Regions from separate parts of the Homo sapiens genome. Here region 1 is linked to region 2. The links are contacts of gene promoters, found by promoter capture Hi-C in blood cells and fetal thymus (Javierre and others, 2016). All regions are on one chromosome and are shown on one strand. The core of a region is centred on a gene start or on the middle of the fragment in contact, and the rest is flanking DNA. Distances in the headings are between cores, read along the strand shown. Region 1 overlaps SCNN1A (sodium channel epithelial 1 subunit alpha). Region 2 holds the start of NOP2 (NOP2 nucleolar protein).

What was found. The method cuts DNA at HindIII sites, captures the fragments that hold promoters and counts their contacts. A CHiCAGO score of 5 or more calls a contact.
Region 1: a fragment that was not itself captured here is called in contact with the fragment with the promoter of NOP2 in region 2 in 6 of 17 cell types (total CD8 T cells, non-activated CD4 T cells, total CD4 T cells and 3 more); the score reaches 9.2 in total CD8 T cells.

Annotation. Positions count from the first base shown.
Region 1 is chr12:6,359,704-6,362,681 of GRCh38, forward strand. SCNN1A (sodium channel epithelial 1 subunit alpha) reads right to left here. Exons shown (of 13, transcript NM_001038.6): 4 at 2,348-2,538. Among named protein-coding and RNA genes, the nearest start is that of SCNN1A, 14 kb to the right of the region's middle. RefSeq lists an enhancer at 2,398-2,978. The HindIII fragment of the contact is 4,287 bases long and covers 1-2,978 here.
Region 2 is chr12:6,566,785-6,569,596 of GRCh38, forward strand. It overlaps NOP2 (NOP2 nucleolar protein), which reads right to left and starts at 1,507. Exons shown (of 16, transcript NM_001258308.2): 1 at 1,423-1,507; 2 at 1,032-1,138; 3 at 1-38. The coding sequence starts at 1,134. It overlaps CHD4-AS1 (CHD4 antisense RNA 1), which reads left to right and starts at 1,587. Exons shown (of 3, transcript NR_199067.1): 1 at 1,587-2,746. RefSeq lists enhancers at 1,357-1,978, 1,802-1,851. The HindIII fragment of the contact is 18,468 bases long and covers 1-2,812 here.

The DNA of each region.
Region 1 (2,978 bases), core at 143-2,642, 210 kb before region 2:
TGCAGAACCCTGAGCCAATTAAACCTCTTTCCTTTATAAATTACCCAGACTCAGATATTCCTTTTTTTTTTTTTTTTTTTTTTTTCAGATGGAGTCTTGCTCTGTCGCCCAGGCTGGAGTGCAGTGGTGCGATCTCGGCTCACTGCAACCTCCACCTCTTGGGTTCAAGCAATCCTCCTGCCTCAGCCTCCTGAGTAGCTGGGGCCACAGATGTGTGCCACCACACCCGGCTAATTTTTATATTTCCAGTAGAGATGGGGTTTCGCCATGTTGGCCAGGCTGATCTCTAACTCCTGACCTCAGGTGATCCGCCCATCTCGGTCTCCCAAAGTGCTGGGATTACAGGCATGAGCCACCGTGCCCGGTGAGATATTCCTTTATAGCAACACAAAATGGACTAACACACAGGACTAACTGGAATAGTTACATGTGGTGACGTGAAGTAAGGTTGAAGTACAAAGGTTCCTGTAGTTGCAGAAGGAAGGGAGGATTTGGAGGCAAAAGAACGCAGTAGGGTGGAGTGGTGGGTATAACAACCCAGGCGAGCAATGAGGCTCTGAGCTGACCTAAGCGCCTAAGTGCCAAGATAAAGATGAACCATGGACTTTCTGTTGAGGGGGAGGCAGGCACACAGAGCAAAGGGAGGGCATCGGGTGAGGGCATAGGGAAAGCACAGGTGTCCATGGACTTTCTGTTGATGGGGAGGCAGGCACACAGAGCAAAGGGAGGCATCGGGTGAGGGCATAGGGAAAGCACAGGTGTCCAGGTGACAGTTAGAGGAACTTGGTGACAGGTGTGGGCGGACTCAGGCTTAGGTGTTGCTACCATCTTACTTCCCAGCTGGTAGTTTCTGTCCTCAAACAAATGCAAAGACTAAAAACAGAACAAAATCGTGTACTGGGCAGAGTGTGTGTGAAGGGTAAGAAGTGACACCTTGCCCTGTGGCCATTCTTCAGCAACAGGGGAGGGAATGCCCCCTGTAGAGTGGAGCCAGGCAGAGGCAGGGAGATGGCTCCGGAAAATAAACGAGCAGGAGGAGAAGGCAGGGGAGGAGGGGGCCAGAGGTTACAGAAGGGGACCCCCCCCTCGCCTCAGCCTCTCCCAGCCCTCAGAGAACCTGCAGCTGCTATGAGCTGCTTGCAAGGACATTATAACAGGGGTCCTCACAGAATGAATACCCGAGGGGTAGTGGGGTGGGAAGAATCCTTAGCCAGGGCCGGCCCATTCCCAAGGGCAAGTCACTTCACCTGTTTGAGTACAAGAGTAATGAAACCCATCATTTACTGTGGTCTATAAAGTGCCCTCACGTTTGTATCTCACACACTTGGTACAGCTCTTGAGATGAGTGTTATCGTCATCATCTTCGTCACTTGAGTAAAAGTGCCAAAGGAGCATGGATTATATAGTTTTTCCTTTGATGTAGTCCAAATGCCTAGAACAGTGACTGGCACATAGCCCAGATAGTCAAAACTATTTGTTGAACGAACACTGAATGAATCTCATTTTTTGTTTTACTTCCATTTTACAATCTAAGAAATAGGCTCTGAAGGATGATGTGATACATCCAGAGTCACCTGGCCAGGAAGTGACAGAGCTAGAGTGGGAACTTAGGTTTAGTCCCTCAACCCATGCCACTCCACCTCACTACTACTGCCAGCCTCAGCTCAGGGAACAGAGTATGAGACAGATGATCTCCTAGGCCCTTTTGAGCTTTGATGCTAGGGAGAAAGGGGCCTTAGAAAGACCAAGACCCTGGCCAGGCATGGTGGCTCACGCCTGTAATCCCAGCACTTTGGGAGGCCAAGGCAGGCAGATCACCTGAGGTCAGGAGTTGGAGACCAGCCTGACCAACATGGACGTTGACCAACGTCTCTACTAAAAATAAAAAAATTAGCCAGGCGTGGTGGCGCATGACTGTAATCCCAGCTACTCAGGAGGCTGAGGCAGGAGAATTGCTTGACCCCAGGAGGTGAAGGTTGCAGACAGCCGAGATCGCGCCATTGCACTCCAGCCTGAGCAACAAGAGCAAAACTCCATCTCAAAAAAAAGAAAAACAAAAAAGACCAAGATCCATGCTTCCAGCCTTTGGTTTCTCAAAGCCCCAGTCTTCCCAAGGCATCCTGTGAGGCCACTTCCCTCAGATCCAGCAGTGCAGGGAGCAGCAGGAGTTCGTAGGGCGCTCTCTGGGGCAGGGTGTGGGCCCAAAGCCAGTGCTTCCCCCTGGCCTGCTGGCACTGGCATTTTTTTAGTCAACAAGCATTTCCTGGGCCCTGCCCATGCAGGGCGTGAGGCTGACCCAGGGAAGCGGACCCCGCGGAGAGCAAGGAGCCAGGCAGGACTGACTCACGCCTGGTTGCAGGAGACCTGGTTGAAGCGGCAGGCGAAGATGAAGTTGCCCAGCGTGTCCTCCTCCAGGGATGGCAGAGTCTCTGGCAGCCTCGACAGGATGTTGATGTAGTGGAAGCGGTACCACTCCCTCACCGCATCCACCCCTGATGAGTATGTCTGGTAGAAGCAGTCCGATTTGTTCTGGTTGCACTGGACACAGAGACTAGAGTCAGAGGGGACACGCAGCCGGGGATAAGCCCCTTGGCAGGGCCAAGGGCAAAGAATGAGTGATCTGGGGTTCTGAGGACTGACGGACAGGAGTCGGAAGCCAGGAGTGGGGAAAGACAGAAGTGGAAGAGAAGCAGAAGTCCCTAGGAGCATGGACCAGGGGAGCATGGGATTAAGGGAGTTGCAGGCCAGGAAAGGAGACCAGTAGCTGCACACACACGGTTTTGGTTCATTTATACCTCCCCTGCCTAGGGTGGAAGGAGCAAGACTTTCCCTCCCATTTCACTGATGGGAAGACTGAGGGATCAAGAGATTTGTCCCAGCAAGAGCTGGGACTAGGACTCCAGTCCCCAGCCCACTCTTACTAATGGGAACTTCCCTGTCTCCTTTCCTTGGCTCCTCCCTCATTTTCCCTTGCTCCT
Region 2 (2,812 bases), core at 257-2,756:
AGCACGACTAGACAGCCTCTTGGAATTTTCGTCACTTACTGTTTAAAAAAGAAAAACGAGGCAGAACAAGTTACAGGGGACATTAAAAATAAATGGGAACGGAAATAAACATGGTAAGAGAATTAGTACACTAATTAAAAGGAGTCCATTTAAATCTCAGCCCTGTTATTATTTAATAACTGTATACAAGTTTCTTTTTTTTTTTTGAAATGGAGTTTCACTCTTGTCTTCCAGGCTGGAGTGCAATGGCGTGATCTCAACTCACTGCAACCTCCTTCTCCCAGATTCAAGCGATTCTATTGCCTCAGCCTCCCATCACCACACCCAGCTAATTGTTGTATTTTTAGTAAAGACAGGGTTTCACCATGTTGGCCAGGCTGGTCTCGAACACTGGACCTCAGGTGATCCACCTGCCTCGGCCTCCCAAAGTGTTTCCTTAATAGTGCCTCTCTCACAGGACTCTAAGATGATTAAGCGATATAACATGACCAACAAGTTTAATACAGTGCCCAGGACTTCCTACTATCTCAATAAACTGCATCCTTTATCCAATGCCCAACACAAACTCCCGGTCCAGTGTTACCTCCCACCAGTCTTCCACACAGTATACTACTACTCGGCATGAAGCAGCCAGATCCGTGCTTTTCCATTTCCACCCCTTCCAAAAGGCAAATCAGTGACTGACCCCTCCCCTTCACTACTTCCTCTTGCTACAATGTTACCCATTTTTCAAAACCCAGCTTAACAAAAACTTTTACAGTTCTGCATGGGCTCCCCCTTCCTCTGAACTCACAATTGTTTTAAATCACACTTTTCCCTTGCATGAATAATAGTTGTGTCCGTGTCTTCACATCTCTACGACCTAAACAGTTCCCTACAATCTAAACGGCTGTTTCATTCATACCTCCTAGTAACTCATACAGAGAAGATTCCACTTAAATATAAAATGAACAGAAACTAAAAAAGAGAAGAGGTTATAATACAGAATACTGCAAAAGCTGAGGGATCAGGAGGCCACAACTAATCCTTACCTGCAGGCAAGAATCTGACGAGTTCTGTCTCGGCACCCTTCTGCTTCCGGGCCTTTCGGCCTGGCCCCCGCTTCTCCTTCGTAGGGTCCAACTTGCGCCCCATGGTACTGTGGCAGGCAGAAATGGGAGAAGGTGGCGTCGCGCGTGTCGGAGGGAACGGCAGAACGCACGCTTGGCGTATTATAGTGGGAAAGGGCACAGCCTCAACTCAGCACCCGCAACTCACTCAGCACTCCCGACTCAGCACCCGCGACTCAAGCACCCCCGCTATCCCCCTGGAGGCCCGACCGAACGCCCTCCCACCTGAAACCCAGGTAGCGCACCCTTCTCCCCACGTCCCAGACCAGGTCAGTGCTGCCACTCTTCGTCCCCCAATTTCCTCTAGACCCACCAGAATGCGGGTTAATGTCCGAGAGTGCCCTTCGGGCGGCCCTCCACGTGCAATCCGGACCTAGCTTTCGGCCGGCACTCGCCACAGAATCGTTCCACGCAGGCGCACGGGTAGCGCTAGCCTCGCGGCCCCGCCTCTTCCTGTTGCGCCTAGTCGGCCGCCGCACCCGGAACTTACGCTCGCCCTGGGAACGCCAGCGGAGCCGGCGGCGGCGAGTAGGGGGCAATTCGAAGGAGACGCGCAGCTTACACCCGCGGCGGGTGGAGGGAGCAATGTGACGAAACCATTGAGCTTGACCGACCTTCCCTCATGGAGTTGGCTTTTAGCCTCACGGCCGGTTTCTGTTGGGTGAAAGCCGCACCTTCTCCTCGAACCAGGGCCCGACATTGGAGCCCTCTCCCTCGCATCCACTGCCCTAGTCCAGCGTCAAGATCACGGAATTCCAGGCTGGGCGCAGTGGCTCACGCCTGTAATCCCAGCACTTTGGGAGGCTGAGGTGGGTGGATCACTTGAGGTCAGGAGTTCGAGACCAGCCTGGCCAATATGGTGAAACCCTGCTTCTACTAAAAATACAAAATTAGCCGGGCGTGGTGGCGGGCGCCTATAATCCCAGCTACTCGAGAGGCTGAGGCAGAATTGCTTGAGCCCGGGAGGCGGAGGTTGCAGTAAGCCGAGATCGTGCCACTTAAGCCTCACCAAGAGCGAAACTCCACCTCAAAAAAAAAAAACAAAAAAACCAGCCGGGCTCGGTGGCTCACGCCTGTAATCCCAGCACTTTGGGAGGTCGAGGCGGGCGGATCACGAGGTCAAGAAATCCGAGACCATCTTGGCCAACCTTGTCTCTATTAAAAATACAAAAATTAGTTGGGCATGGTGGCTGGCGCACGCGTGTAGTCCCAGCTACTCGGGAGGCTGAGGCAGGAGAATCGCTTGAACCCGGGAGGGGGAGGTTGCAGTGAGCTGAGATCGCGCCACTGTACTCCAGCCTGGCAACAAAGCGAGACTCCATCTCAAAACAAACAAACAAAAAAAACCGTGGAATTCCATGCCACTTACCTCCTCCTCTTTGCCCCTTTTTTAAAAATCTTTTTATAGAGACGGGTTGTAGGGGGTGGCGTCTCACTATATTGCCAGGGCTGGTCTAGAACTCCTGGGCTTAAGCGATCCTCCTGCCCCCACCTTTGTGCTGAGATTACAGGCTGTGAGCCACCGTGCCCCGCCCTCCCAGCACCTTCCTTGATGCTGACCCCTGCTCAGCCCCTCAATTAAGGTGCTGCACTGCACCTCATTCGCAGGGGGCCTCTTCGCCGGAACTCGCTTTCAGGTGGGTCTACAATTAGTTGGGAAACAACGGGTTGCAAGGCTGACCTGGTCTGGGACATGAGAAGGG